Regions from separate parts of the Homo sapiens genome. Here all the other regions are linked to region 3. Evidence: promoter capture Hi-C in 16 types of primary human blood cells and fetal thymus (Javierre and others, 2016). All regions are on one chromosome and are shown on one strand. The core of a region is centred on a gene start or on the middle of the fragment in contact, and the rest is flanking DNA. Distances in the headings are between cores, read along the strand shown.

Region 1 (3,643 bases), core at 448-2,947, 270 kb after region 3:
CTTTAATTACGACAGCTTACCTTACCCATTATCTTCCGTCCATTCATAGCAGCTAATGCTGCAGCTGCATGACGATGCTCATGAAACTCCACAAAACAATAGGGATCATTTCCAGCTGTCTGTGGGAGAAGAAACACAAAAGCCAATTTTAAGCTTTATTCACCCATTACCTTAAAATTATGTAAAAAAAAAAATCTTAAACCAAGTTTTATACATCTAAGTTATCAGGCCATGGAGAATGAATGGTCTATTCCACAAGTAAATTTTAGATTTAAAAAAGTAGGCTGGGTGAGGTGGCTCACACCTGTAATCCCAGCACTTTGGGAGGCCAAGGCAGGTGGATCATGAGGTCAGCAGTTTGAGACCAACTTGGCCAACGTGGTGAAACCCTGTCTCTATTAAAAAAAAATACAAAAATTAACCAGGCATGGTGGCAGGCTCCTGTAATCCCACCTACTCGGGAGGCTGAGGCAGGAGAATTGCTTGAACCCGGGAGGTGGAGGTTGCAGTAAGCTGAGACTGCGCCACTGCACTCCAGCCTGGGCGACAGAGCAAGACTCCGTCTCAAAAACAAACAAACAAAAAAGTAAACAGCCAGCTCCTGTAGTCCCAGCTACTTTAGGAGGCTGAGGTGGGAGGAATGCTTGAGCCCAGGAGTTTGAATCCAGCCTGGGCAACACAGCAAGATCCTGTCTCTAAAATAATTAAAAAGTAAAAAAAAAAAAGCAAACACTTAAAATCACACTGCTTTTATACATAGCTATTTTCTTCAACAGGTTATACTATAGTACTATAATTTAATATTAATGACTAGGTATCCTAACTGGATATATAGCTACACATACCCCATCATCATATAACCATTTGTTCAAGCTACACAGATTAAGTTTGACTGAACTCCTAAGTTCTGAAGTCTCACTTCGGCTTTTTATGATTTTTCTATCCCCTCCCTGTTATAAGTTACTTTTTACTGCTACAAATGTACATTGCTCCTTGCTGCTACTAGCTTGCTGAGTAGCAGAAAATCTTAGCCAACCTTCTTAAACCTGTTTTAAAATATAGGTAAATAGGCTCTGAAAACTGAAGAGATTCTCTGGTAAGTAAAATTTTAGAATAAGTTTTAGAATGTGAACTTTCTGACATCAATTTTTTGCTTGCTCAGAAGCCTTTAAAAAATTATCTTCCCGCCAGGCGCAGTGGCTCATGCCTGTAATCCCAGCACTTCGAGAGGCCGAGGCAGGCGGATCATGAGGTCAGGAGATCGACACCATCCTGGCTAGCACGGTGAAACCCCGTCTCTACTAAAAATACAAAAAATTAGCCGGGCCTGGTGGCGGGCGCCTGTAGTCCCAGCTACTCAGGAGGCTAAGGCAGGAGAATGGCGTGAACCCAGGAGACGGAGCTTGCAGTGTGCAGTGAGCCGAGATTGCACCACTGCACTCCAGCCTGGGCGACAGAGCGAGACTCTGTCTCAAAAAAAAAAAAAAAAAGAAAAAAGAAAAAAGAAAAAAAATTATCTTCCCAGCCAGGCATGATGGCTCACACCTGTAATCCCAGCACTTTGGGAGGCCAAGGTGGGCTGATCACCTGAGGTCAGGAGTTTGAGACCAGCCTGACCAACATGGTGAAACCCTGTCTCTACTAAAAATACAAAATTAGCCGGGCGTGGTGGTGCATGCCTGTAATCCCAGCTACTCGGGAGGCTGAGGCAGGAGAATCGCTTGAACCCTGGAGGCGAAGGTTGTGGTGAGCCGAGATTGCGCCATTGCACTCCAGCCTGGGCAACAAGAGTGAAACTCTGTCTCAAAAAAAAAAAAAAAAAAAAAAAAAAAAAAAAAATTATCTTCCCTTGGCCGGGCACAGTAGCTCATGCCTGTAATCTCAGCACTCTGGGAGGATGAGGCAGGTGGATCACCTGAGGTCAGGAGTTCGAGACTAGCCTGGCCAAAATGGTGAAACCTCATCTCTACTAAAAATACAAAAATCAGCTGGGTGTGGTGGCGTGTGCTTGTAATCCCATCTACTCGGGAGGCTGAGGCAGGAGATTCGCTTGAACTCAGGAGGGGGACGTTGCAGTGAGCCAAGATGGTGCCACTGGATTCCAGTCTGGGCGCACAGCGAGACTCTGTCTCAAAAAAAAAAACAAAACTTCCCTTTTCTGCTGGTGTTCCAGGTAGGTGAGGCTATGTGATAAATAGAACCTGGATGTTTAATTATAAATTCAAGTAGCAGAAAAAAATTCCAATTTTTACACCTACAGTGCAAAATATCAAATGACATTATAGGCCATTTTAAAATTCTTTCCATAGCCTCCTAAACAGATTTGTTAAAATAAAAAACTAATTCAAAAGACTAGAAAGCTACTAAAATAGAGGAATATACAATTTTATTTCAAGTACAGTTAATTAATTTTTTTTTAGAGATGTGGTCTTGTTATGTTGCCCAGGCTGGTCTCAAATTCCTGGGCTCAAGTGATCCTCCAGCCTCTGCCTCCCAAAGTGTTGGGATTACAGGCATCAGTCACTGTGCACATCAACAATTAATAGTTTGAGAGTCACTGGCAATGACTTGTAAAAATTTTAAAGCAACGAGGCCAAGACAAAGTTTAATATATTGGGACTATATTTTGTCTAAAAAAATTAGAGAATAAAAATGTTATATAACTCAAACTAATAAAACACAATGGGAATTCTATTACCAAGATCAATGCTGACAGGCAACACTGAAATGAAGTTAGAAAAAGTCACTTGCGGCTGGCTGTGGTGGCTCACGCCTGTAATCCCAGCACTTTGGGAAGCTGGGGTGGGCGGATCATGACATCAGGAGATCAAGACCACCTGGCCAACATGGTGAAACCCTGTCTCTACTGAAAATACGAAAACTAGCCAGGTGTGGTGGCGCATGCCTGTAATCCCAGCTACTTAGGAGGCTGAGGCAGGAGAATAGCTTGAACCTGGGAGGCAGAGTTTGCAGTGAGCTGAGATCATGCCATTGCACTCCAGCCTGGGCAACAGAGTGAGACTCTGTCTAAAAAAAAAAAAAGAAAAAGTCACTTGCATTTAAGAGTAAATAAATGAAAAAGAATATGCTTTACTTAATTTATATGCAGAAAAAACTAACTTTTTAAATAAGAATCGAAGCATATATACATATTATCAGTCCAGGGAGCATAAAATTTATAAATGTGAACATTAGTCTCAGAATGTGAACAGACTGGAATTTAGATTTGAATAATAAAAATCTAAGCTTTTGAGCGATCAGAATCCACAAATGATAAAAAGTGGCAAAGGCTAACCTGGTTTTTTCTGTAGCCAAGGCAATCATTAACGTTTTGTCTAATGATCTTTCCCCAGGGAAACATATGACCAGCCAGAGAGAGAGTAGCAGCAGGCAAACCAACAGAGAAGATTTATATTCGGATAAATCAATTAGGGTTTACAGCCTTGCTTTGCCTCATTTCCTCATACATGAAATGAAAATAACACCTTCTTTATGTTTCTATTGAGCATTTATGACAATGTATTAAAGTAACTGACAGGCAGCAAATTTTCCATAAATGCTACCATTGGGATAAGTAAGGAGATCTAGATTAAGGAAAGACTGGTTTTAAATTTCTCTTCATCTTTCCCCATCTTTCCCTCCT
Region 2 (3,376 bases), core at 650-3,149, 290 kb after region 3:
CTCCTGCCTCAGCCTCCTGAGTAGCTGGGACTACAGGTGCACACCACCATGCCAGGCTAATTTTTTTGTATTTTTTCGTAGAAACGGGGTTTCGCCATTTTGCTCAGGCTGGTCTCGAACCCTGGGCTCAAATCGTCCGCCTGCCCTAGCCTCCCAAAGTGCTGGGATTACAGGTGTGAGCCACTGAGCCCAGCCTCTTTCTCCAAGTTTAACTTTATTTTGTATCCAACCTATTTTCTTCTCATCTATATTGTTCTTCATGTTCATGTACTAGTTATTTTTGTTTGTTTGTTTGGGTGAAGTATTGTAATTACAGAAATGAGACTTTTTTTTTTTAAATGAAAGGCCTCACATATTTATTACTGAACCCAGCCAACCAATGCGTTCATAACAGATTCGGAGAGGAAAACACGTCGAACTCTCCAGATAGGGGTGACATTTTCAGCTTGATATGGTAACGTGATCGTGACCTTCAGACAGCATAAATATGTGTGCCATCTCATGTACAATTCCTTATAGACCCAGCTTGGTTCTTCTCCAATGTCTCCTTTTGGAGTTGTACCTGATTTTATTTCCAGTTTTCATCCGAATCCACTGGGGAATGGGACGATTTTGCTTTTGTTTCTTGGGCAGGAATCACTTAATCCTGAAAGTCTTGTGAGAAGACATGGTGAGGGTGGAGTCAAGAACACACCACGATGGCAGAGAAAGGAAAAGAGGCATGAGATCATTTTATACCCATCATGCAACCACAAGCTTTTCTCAACTGATAATACTAGGACATTAGTTATAGACCCATTTTTTTTTTTTTTGAGACGGAGTCTCACTCTGTCGCCCAGGTTGGAGTGCAGTGGCGTAATCTTGGCTCACTGCAGCCTCTGCCTCCTGGGTTCAAGCAATTGTCCTGTCTCAGCGTTCCTGAGTAGCTGGGATTACAGGTGTGCGCTACCACGCCTGGCTGATTTTTATATTTTTAGTAGTAGAGACAGGGTTTCACCATGTTGACCAGCCTGGTCTCAAATTCCTGACCTCAGGTGATCTGCCTGCTTCAGCCTCCCAAAGTGCTGGGATTACAGGTGTGAGCCACTGCGCCAAGCTCCAACATTCTTTTTTTGTAATTTTTTTTTTTTTTGAGATCAGCCTGTCAGGTTGGAGTGCAGTGGTGCAATCTCAGCTCACTGCAACCTTGGCCTCCCAAGTTCAAGTGATTCTCCTGCCTCAACCTCCCAAGTAGGTGGGATTACAGGCATGCATCACCACGCCCAGCTAATTTTTGTATTCTTAGTAGAGGCAGAGTTTTGCCACGTTGGCCAGGCTGGTCTTGAACTCCTGACCTCAGATATTCTGCCTGCCTTGGTCTCCCAGAGTGCTGGGATTACAGGCGTGAGCCACCGTGCCTGGCTTCCTTTTAATGCATGCATAATGTTCTATTGTATGGTATGTTGGGGAGAAAAAAAGAGTTTTCCTCTACCCTTCCGAGGTTTTGGTTGTGATAGACCCCTGTAACAAAAGACAGATTAACAAGAAGAAAACAAACAGGACCAGGCATGGTGGCTCATGCCTGTAATCCCAACACTTTGGGAGCCCAGGAGTTCCAGACCAGCCTGGGCAATATGGCAAAAAACCATCTCTACAAAAAATGTAAAAATTAGCTGGGCATGGTAGTGGATGCCTGTGGTCCCAGGTACTCTACTCTGGTGGCTGAGGTGGGTGGATCGCTTGAGCCCAGGAGCGAGAGGTTGCAGTGAGCCGTGATAGTGCCATTGCACTTCAGCCTGGGTGACAGAGCGAAGCCATCTCAAAATAAATAAAAGAAAGAAAGAAAAAAAGAAAAACAGAAATTTAAAAACATGTACGTCACGTATTCAAAAGAGAGACCAGGGAAATGAGCAAATCTCCAAGAGGTAGCTTTGAATTCAGGATTATACAGCATCTTCAAAAAAGAACAGTATATGTTTAGAGAAGTGTTAAGAGAACCGGGCACAGTGACTCACGCCTGTAATTCCAGCACTTTGGGAGGCCGAGGTGGGCGGATCACCTGAGGTCGGGAGTTCGAGACCAGCCTAACCAACACGGAGAAACCCCATCTCTACTAAAAATACAAAATTAGCTGGGTGTGGTGGCGCTTCCCTATAATCCCAGCTACTCAGGAGGCTGAGGCAGGAGAATTGCTTGAACCCGAGAGGCGGACGTTGCCGTGAGACTGCGCCATTGCACTCCAGCCTGGGCAACAAGAGCGAAACTTCGTCTCAAAAAAAAAAAAAAAAAGAAAGAAAGAAAAAAAAAGAGAAGTGTTAAGAGAAGGAAAATGATTTTGAGTCTCTAGGGGTGGCAAATTATGGGAAGGCAAATACGCGATAGAAAAAGGCTCATTAATGAAGTTTGTCATGTAGATTCCTGGCTGATAAAGGTTTGTCAAAAGACAAAATTACAACTAATTTAGTTTAAAGAGCATAATTGGCTTTTAGTTGCGATTGTAGAATTGTGCAACACCTCATTTTATAAAATCGAATGAGTGTTCCTATGAGTTGAGTGGAGGAGGTTGGCTTTCAGAAAGGGCTGAAGAAAGCAGAAACAGAAAAGTGCATTGGTTGTTTCGAGGTTACTTTCCTTGAAAAGTTTAAAGCAGAGGGTATTTCCTTATCATGTCACTTCAAACTGGTCTGTCGGGAATTTGGCTATTATTTTTCTTTCTCCTGATTTCTTAGAAAGTCAGATCGACAACTTAGTTTTGACCTTGTGATGTGGAACATGAGTGACTTGAGTGACTCCATTTTGGTTTAGTCTGTTGGGCCTAGTCTAGTGCAGGAGCTCAGTCCAAACCAATGGCTTCCTATGAATTTTATTTAACAGGCGTAAAATTGTCTTTAGTGATTAACCTTTGTCCTTCCAGGCAGTGTGGGAAGAGGGATACCTTTGCCTTTTAAAATTTATGTCCTGCTTTACTTCAGACATTACACTAAATAGGAGTGTTGAGTATAAAAATGAATTCACAATTAAAGTTGTTAAATTATTTGTATATAACTTTAAAAGGAGTTTTTTTGAAGCTTTGTAATTACATTGAAAGTATATTTGTTTCCTTGAAAACAATTTTTTGAAAAGTGAATAATAATATAATACAGCTTTCAAATTACTTTATGCTGTTACTTTATTTCTATTGTATTCACATGTGAAAGTATGTGATCAGTTGTTGCTGTATCAGAGATATTAGAGATTCTTTATTAGTTGGGCATTCTTTATGACCTTTTCTATAAAAGAGTAAGGACATTAAAATGTAAGATGCATGATAAAAATATAAGTAGCGAGGCTCATTGTAGTTAGCCTAAATTAAGTAATGTTTAAGGTAGGTGTTCATGGCCAGGCGCGGTGGCTCACA
Region 3 (3,505 bases), core at 576-3,075:
ACTTTAGGGTCACTTTTGGGTATAGAGGCAATTTGTATGCTAAAATACTACAGATTGAAATAAGTAGAGGAATTATGACGATTCAAAATAATGAGAGCAATTCTGGAGGGAATAAGTCAAAATATTTTATGCTGAGACTGTCTTAGAAAATCCAAGACCTGTCATCCCTGTGTATATGTTCTTATACCTCCAGCTAGGCACTCAGTAGACATGTGAATCTCCCTTGTCTTTGATGCTGACTCCCTCTCACATTCCTCTCATCCTCAATCAACACATTACATGGTTTTTCCATGAATCAATCTTTATTGGTGTTTGCAGCAATTGAATTATTGGCATAAGGCACAATGGGCTTCAAAGCAAATGACAGAAAGAAAATACGATTGTACAGGTGGAAAGGCTCTTCAGGGAGGTGTCCCAGAGCAACTGTGACCCTCACAAAGACCCTGCAGCTAGGACCCAGCCCAACTAAGACAGGCTTTGAGGACCTGAGAGTGACCAAGCCATACCTCAGGGAATCTGAAGGGGTCCCACAGTTCTTTCAAAGACAAGCATTTCTAGCTTCCTTGGGAGCTCTTCCAGCCTTTGAGTCTTTGTCATCAACAGCAGCTTGATGACCATGGGGACCCTGTCCCTCTAAGCCAGCCTGCTCTCCCTCACCTGTGCCTGTTCAGTGGAAGCCTCCCCTACCAGGGGCAGATTAAGGCCCCTGCAGAGGGAGGCAAAGGGGAGAGAAGAGCAAGAGTTGATAAGCAGACTGGCCAAGCCCAGTGACCCCCATGAGGATATGCAACCCCCCCCACAGCGGTGGGTCTTCCCACCAATATTTAGGAGGTTAAAGAAAAGGTGGCTTCTCAGTGGGATAGCTCCTGCCGCCCTTCTTCTGAGGAGGGGTCCTCCTCTATGAGCTCCAGGTCAAACTCATCTTCCAGGGACCCTCCCACAGGCAGAAGGCGAAACTTCTTCCCTTTCAGGGTGCATGTGCGGTGCTCAAAGTCCAGGATAGCATTGTGGTCCTGGAGCACATCAGTGCCAATGATGGCTTCCTCGGCACTCGCATTGGCCACTAGGAACTGTGCCTTCAGCTTCAGCTTGCCTAGGGACACCGCTGTATCCCAGACACCCAGGATCTTCATTTCAGCACCATTGGCCACCTTTACCACATTCTCAAAGGGCTGCAGGGTGTCCAGATCGCCATCAGTGACCTCCTCCCACAAGTTTGGGTGGACCACAGAGACCTGGGCCCCAGAGTCCACCAGGAACCTCACGGGCACTTTGCCAATCTTCCCCTTGAGATAGTAGCCCTTACCCATGCTGTTGGCAAAGACGATCTCTTTGGGCAGGTGGCTGGGGGCAGCCCCAGGGACCCCAAAGGCCTTCAGGAGGGCCTCTTTCACAGTCCCATAGTCTCCCTGGTCCTGGGGACTGAGCCTATTGTAGACACCCAGGGCCTCTCCTCTGAGGGACTCTTTCAGGAACCTTAGCTTGGTGATATGGTCCCAATGGTTGAGGTCATTGATGACTTCAAAGCTGTGCAGCCAGAGGTTTGGGACGACATTGGCCCCATCAAAAGGTTCCGGGACGAAGGCATGCTGCCGGCGGCCTTCCTCACTCCTGGCTCCGCTCCCGGCCATCCTGCTGCTCTCCTCTGGAACCTCAGCAGCAACCCACGCCAAGAAGAGAAACCCACAGAGCAGTGTCGGCGCAATCACGCTGGAAAACGGGGCCTCTCGAAGCAGAGTGGGGATGACTTGCCCGGCCTTGGGCAAGCAGGAGGGAGCAGGCGCGGTCGGCTGGCTGACTGCTGGGGCAGAGGCAGGCAGTGCTGTGGCCTGTTCACTCTGCAGAGCCTTTTTGATGCCTAGGCTGGCCCCTGGGCTCCCCATTCTCCTTTGTTCTGGAAGCTCCGCCCCTCCTCACCCCGCCCTCCTGCCAGCATCCGGCCGGACTAGCAGGATGGGTGCCTCACCCTCTGCATCCATCCTTGGACCAACACCAGCCAGCCCACATCCCAAGAAAGGCCAGCCTCTGTTGAAGGGGGACTACCCTGTACCCTCCCTGGCCTGTGTTCCAGAATAACAGATGAGGACACGGAGGATGTGATGACATTCAGGTATTTGTCATCAGCCAGTGAAGGAAGGGGAGGCAGGGACCAGACGCCCATCAGCTCAGAGACCGGGGAAGCCGCCATTGGCCTCCCCAACAAGTGACTACTTTGAGTGGTCAAAGGAAAACAGTTTACATGTACTGAGCTCCTACCACATGCCAGGCACTGGGAAGTGTCTCACACACATTCTAAAGCAGGTATGGGATCCTATGGGATTTCCTGGAGAGGGAGGCAGAGGAGGGTTCCAGCATAAAGAATGCACAGAAATGGTCTTTTTTAAGTGAGTGAGGACACACACACACACACACACACACACACACACGTGCACAATCATCTTACATGGACTCAACTGCTGCAGTAATTTTCCTTCATTGATCACCCCTGATTCAGAGGCAGAGGGGTGGCCAAGCAACTCTGGGTAGGCCCCATACTGCACTCCATGAGCATTGTCTCCACCCTATCCACCCCTCTCCATTTCCAGGAACTGTTCCAGGGCCCCTTCCCCAGGCACTGCAGCACTTCCTCTCCCACTCCCCAAGCTGGTCATTTGTGGAAAGATCACGGGAAATTTCACTCCCTTTTCATTCTGAGAGGGAAAATGTCCACTATGTTGGTGATGCCAGTGGTGAGGACCTGGAGGGCTCTGGCTCTGTGCCCCTCGCTGCAGGGGTAAAGGGTAGCACGGGAGGACATCCAGTCGTCTACAGAGGACATCTGTGAGTCCAAGGGCTGGAGGCCTGACTTGGGGCTGTGCAGGGGCTGTTGAAGGGATCCACTTTTATGTCCCCATTCAAAGGTCACTCCATGGAGCCTTCTGCCTGTCCCTAGAAAGGGCACCCACTCCTCGTTGAGCGTGTTTTACGGTGTGATCTGGTGGTTTGTTCACAAGTCTGCCTCTTGCTATGAACCAGAGTCTGGGGCTCACAAACCTGGCATTTGTGATTGTCTCCAGCCCCCAGAACAACTTCCTCTGGGACCCAGGGGCTCTTTGCTGGGCTCCAGGCCTAGCTGTGTGCTGTCACCAAACAGGAGTGATTAAGGATGGGAGAGGAGGAAGACTCGATGGCACACCTGTGGCTCTGGGGCTGTTTTTCCTGGCCAAGAGCCTGTCCCTCTTCAGCTCCCTATGCCATGCATCACCCAGTGCCTGGCGGAATCCCAGCAGTACCCTGCCTTTGGACAGTCCTGCCTCTGGATGGCCCAGGTCCCCAACCACAATGCAAGACTGTGCTGTCCCCAGCCCCTTCCACCTGATTCAGTGAGCCAGCAGAGAGGCAGTTGGGTCAACACCTCTCATCACAGCTGCCTGGCTAAGGTGGGGCCATTGTGGCATTCCAGGAGCCCAGAGGAGGGGAAATGGAGTCACCGAGAAGGTGTTGAGAGCAGGTGGTTCTTTGAGAA
Region 4 (3,545 bases), core at 875-3,374, 310 kb after region 3:
AAAGTGCTGGGATTACAGGCGTGAGCCACTGTGCCTGGCCCCAGTTATATTTTTTTAAAAATTATTATTTTTTTGTTTTTGTTTTTGTTTTTTTTAAGACAAGGTCTCACTCTGTTGCCCAAGCTGGATGGAGTGCAGTGGTGTGATCACAGCTCACTGCAGCCTCAACCAGCGGGGCTGAAGTGATCCTCATGCCTCAGCTTCCTGAATAGCTGGGACTACAGGCATGCCTCACCATGCCTGGCTAATTTTTTTTTTTTTTTTTTTCTGTAAGTATTTTATTTATCACTGAAGAAAAAACACAGCAGCAAGTTCTGTGTTGGCTTCAATGAGACCAAATAGTTCATCTTTAACATAGCTACTGCGCTCCAAAATTGAAGTCAACACAGTCATTACTACAAATTACTTGTTGAAAGAATCTATCTTCAAAAGAAAGAAAATTAGGAAAGAGAATTTAAACGATTCCTCCAAACCATACATTTATAAATATTGTCATATTTAAAATGCTTGAAAGGCGTGAATTCTCCATTAATGGAAAAGCAGTTTGCTATTGGCAACAGAAAAAAACTCAGCGATAATTTACCAAATGCTTTAAAATTTAAAAGCTATACTGTTTGGATTCACACTTGCGCAGTAATCTTGTCATTACAACAACTGCAAATTGCTTTGTACTCACCTTCTCTCAAGTAAAATCTAAAGAAAACCCCACCGTATCCAATGTTTGTAATGTTTACTTCAAGTGAATCTAAAAAATTTCTAAATTTAGTTTATGGTAAATACCTCAAAATACCTAAAAATAGGTACGTATCAACCACTTAAGGGTGTGAAAATTGTTTCAGATTCACTGCTTTAAAGGGTCTTCAAATATATTTTCTTTAACAGAACCTTACTTCATTCCAAATTATTATCAGATATTTCAAAATAAAAAAAAAGTATCAGTTCTATACCAAGATAAAGGTGTTACTCAATACCTGAAGGTTCACATTTTAAATTTATTTTTTAGTTTTTCTTTTTTGTCAACAAATGATTGATGAAATAATGCAACACCCTTAAATTCCAGAAAATGGCATGGTTTTTCCAACCTCCTGTGGATATGGTGCATGATCAATCTATTATATAGGAGCCTGGCTAATTTTTAATTTTTTTTTTTTTTTTTTTGAGAGGGAGTTTCACTCTGTCACCAAGGCTAGAGTGCAGTGGCACGATCTCGGCTCACTGCAACCTCTACCTCCCAGGTTCAAGCGATTCTCCTGCCTCCACCTCCCAAGTAGCTGGTATTACAGGCATGCGCCACCATGCCCAGTTAATTTTTGTATTTTTAGTAGAGGTGGGGTTTCGCTATGTTGGCCAGGCTGGTCTCAAACTCCTGACCTCAAGCGATCTGCCCGCCTCAGCCTCCCAAAGTGCTGGGATTACAGGCATGAACCACTGCGCCTGGCTAATTTTTACATTTTGTGTACAGACAGAGTCTTGCTATGTTGCCCAGGCTAGTCTTGAACTCCTGGCCTCAAGGTATCCTCCTGTCTTACTCTGTCACCCAGGCTGGAGTATATTGGCTGGCTGTTCACAGGTGCAACCATAATGTACTACAGCCTTGTGCCCCTGGGCTTAAGTGATCCTCCCACCTCAGCCTCTTGAGTAGCTGTGACTACAGGTGCATGCTGCCTCACCTGGGTGCTGTTTTTTAGTAGTATTTATTCTGTTTTTTCATTTATTATTATTATTTTTTTGAGATGGAGTCTTGCTCTGTCATCCAGGGTGTAGTGCAGTGGTGTGATCTTGACTTACTGCAACCTCTGTCTCCTGGGTCAAGCAATTCTCATGCCTCAGCCACCTGAGTAGCTGGGATTACAGGCATGCACCACCACACCTGGATAATTTTTGTATTTTTAGTAGAGATGGGGTTTCACCATGTTGGCCAGGCGGTCTCAAACTACTGACCTCAAGTGATGCTGCCCCACTTTGCCTCCCAAAGTGCTAGGATTACAGGCATGAGCCACCATACCCAGCAGTGTATTTATTCTAATACGATTAGTTGTATCATGAAACAATTAGAGTGCTCTCTGTTTATATTGTGTATATAGTTTCATCTCACCGCTGCCACCCCGCCCCCTCCCAGGGAGACTTGCTTGAGTGAGGTTGCAGCTCTGGCAGGAGCAGTTGGGGAATATGTTTTTTATAGCATCATTAGTAGCTTATTTAATTGACTGTTATTTTCTCATGTTGACCATTAGCCAAAGATCACTCTTCTTTGGATATGAGATATCCAGGCTATTATTTTTCTGAAGAATTCAGTGTTTCCATCCTACTTTTTCCAGTCTCCTAAAGACTGGGACCCAAATGCTATGGTTAGAAGGTATTTAGTTTCTCAGTTTTGGCATAGATATCGAATCAGTTTTTCCAATAAAAATGTGTTTAACATTTTGTACACTTATACTACTACTATGCTTTTAGTAGGTAATACTGAAATGGTTATAATACTGTCCCTTGTTCTGTAAAAAAATATAGTACATTTTGAGAGAAAAACTTGATGTGAAAGTTTCCCTTCCATGATCAGTGATAGGGATCTTTCCTTGGCTCTTAATTTCTTATTTTCATATACTTATCTCTGCATGTGCCTTATTACTTATCCCTAACTATAAGCCCCTTAAGGGAATAAGAGATAAACCCCGTATTACTTATCCCAAACTTAAGCCTGTTTTCCATCTTTGTACTATTTGCAACATGAAAAATTGTGTTTGAATTACTGAATGCACTAATTTATGTGAATGTTGTTTTAAATCCATAAAATGCAGAGAAGTGTTGGGTGATATTTTTCTTTTTGGTCAAGTGATGTTTTCTAAAAAATAATAGAAAGCATCTAATTGTTGAATGAGTGGCATTGGTGCTAAGTTTTATGAGGCTTCTGGAGATGATATAACTGTGGACTGGGAAGTTGAGCAAGACTTTTCAGAGAAGGTGGGATTCAAGTTCTGTTAAGGAAGAATAGATGTTCCATGGTTAGGAATGGGAAGTGTATTCAGGTTGGAGGGAAGAGCTTGTGCACTGGTGGGGATACAGCATGTAGGGCAAATTTAGAGACCAGTGAATGGGTCAGGTGTGCTCCAGTGGAGACTGTGCATGTGTGGGTGATTGACAGCAGAGTGGGCAAGTTGTGATTGAGCCTTATACTTGCCATGTGGCCTTTAGACAAAGTATTTTACTTCTACTTTTTTTTTTTTTTTTTTTTGAGATGGAGTCTCGCTCTGTTGCCCAGGCTGGAGTGCAGCGGTGTGATCTCGGCTCACTGCAACCTCCGCTTTCTGGGTTGAAGCGATTCTCCTGCCTCAGCCTCCTGAATAGCTGGGATTACAGGCGTGCGCCACCAGGCCCAGCTAATTTTTGTATTTTTAGTAGAGACGGGGTTTCACCATGTTGGTCAGGCTGGTCTCAAACTCCTGACCTAGTGATCTGCCTGCCTTGGCCTTCCAAAGAGCTAGGATTACAGGCATGAAACCACCGCGCCTGGCCTTACTTCTACTTTTTATTTTTCCTTTTTCTTCTTC

What was found. Contacts are between HindIII fragments. The CHiCAGO score rates a contact against its expected background, and 5 or more counts as called.
Region 1: a fragment that was not itself captured here is called in contact with the fragment with the promoter of ASPRV1 in region 3 in 8 of 17 cell types (total CD8 T cells, activated CD4 T cells, naive CD8 T cells and 5 more); the score reaches 7.5 in total CD8 T cells.
Region 2: a contact is called between a fragment that was not itself captured here and the fragment with the promoter of ASPRV1 in region 3, in 1 of 17 cell types (neutrophils). The highest score is 5.0, in neutrophils.
Region 4: a fragment that was not itself captured here is called in contact with the fragment with the promoter of ASPRV1 in region 3 in 1 of 17 cell types (neutrophils); the score reaches 6.0 in neutrophils.

Annotation. Positions count from the first base shown.
Region 1 is chr2:70,230,736-70,234,378 of GRCh38, forward strand. TIA1 (TIA1 cytotoxic granule associated RNA binding protein) reads right to left here. Exons shown (of 13, transcript NM_022173.4): 3 at 21-119. Among named protein-coding and RNA genes, the nearest start is that of TIA1, 16 kb to the right of the region's middle. The HindIII fragment of the contact is 3,093 bases long and covers 152-3,244 here.
Region 2 is chr2:70,253,342-70,256,717 of GRCh38, forward strand. It overlaps the pseudogene RPL39P15. Among named protein-coding and RNA genes, the nearest start is that of MIR1285-2, 2.0 kb to the left of the region's middle. The HindIII fragment of the contact is 2,291 bases long and covers 755-3,045 here.
Region 3 is chr2:69,959,806-69,963,310 of GRCh38, forward strand. It overlaps ASPRV1 (aspartic peptidase retroviral like 1), which reads right to left and starts at 1,826. Exons shown (of 1, transcript NM_152792.4): 1 at 284-1,826. The coding sequence starts at 1,631. The coding sequence ends at 852. PCBP1-AS1 (PCBP1 antisense RNA 1) reads right to left here. Exons shown (of 11, transcript NR_033872.1): 11 at 2,458-3,505. RefSeq lists a silencer at 1,712-2,006. The HindIII fragment of the contact is 12,271 bases long and covers 1-3,505 here.
Region 4 is chr2:70,270,987-70,274,531 of GRCh38, forward strand. The region is part of intron 3 of PCYOX1 (prenylcysteine oxidase 1); the gene reads left to right. Among named protein-coding and RNA genes, the nearest start is that of PCYOX1, 15 kb to the left of the region's middle. The HindIII fragment of the contact is 5,117 bases long and covers 1-3,545 here.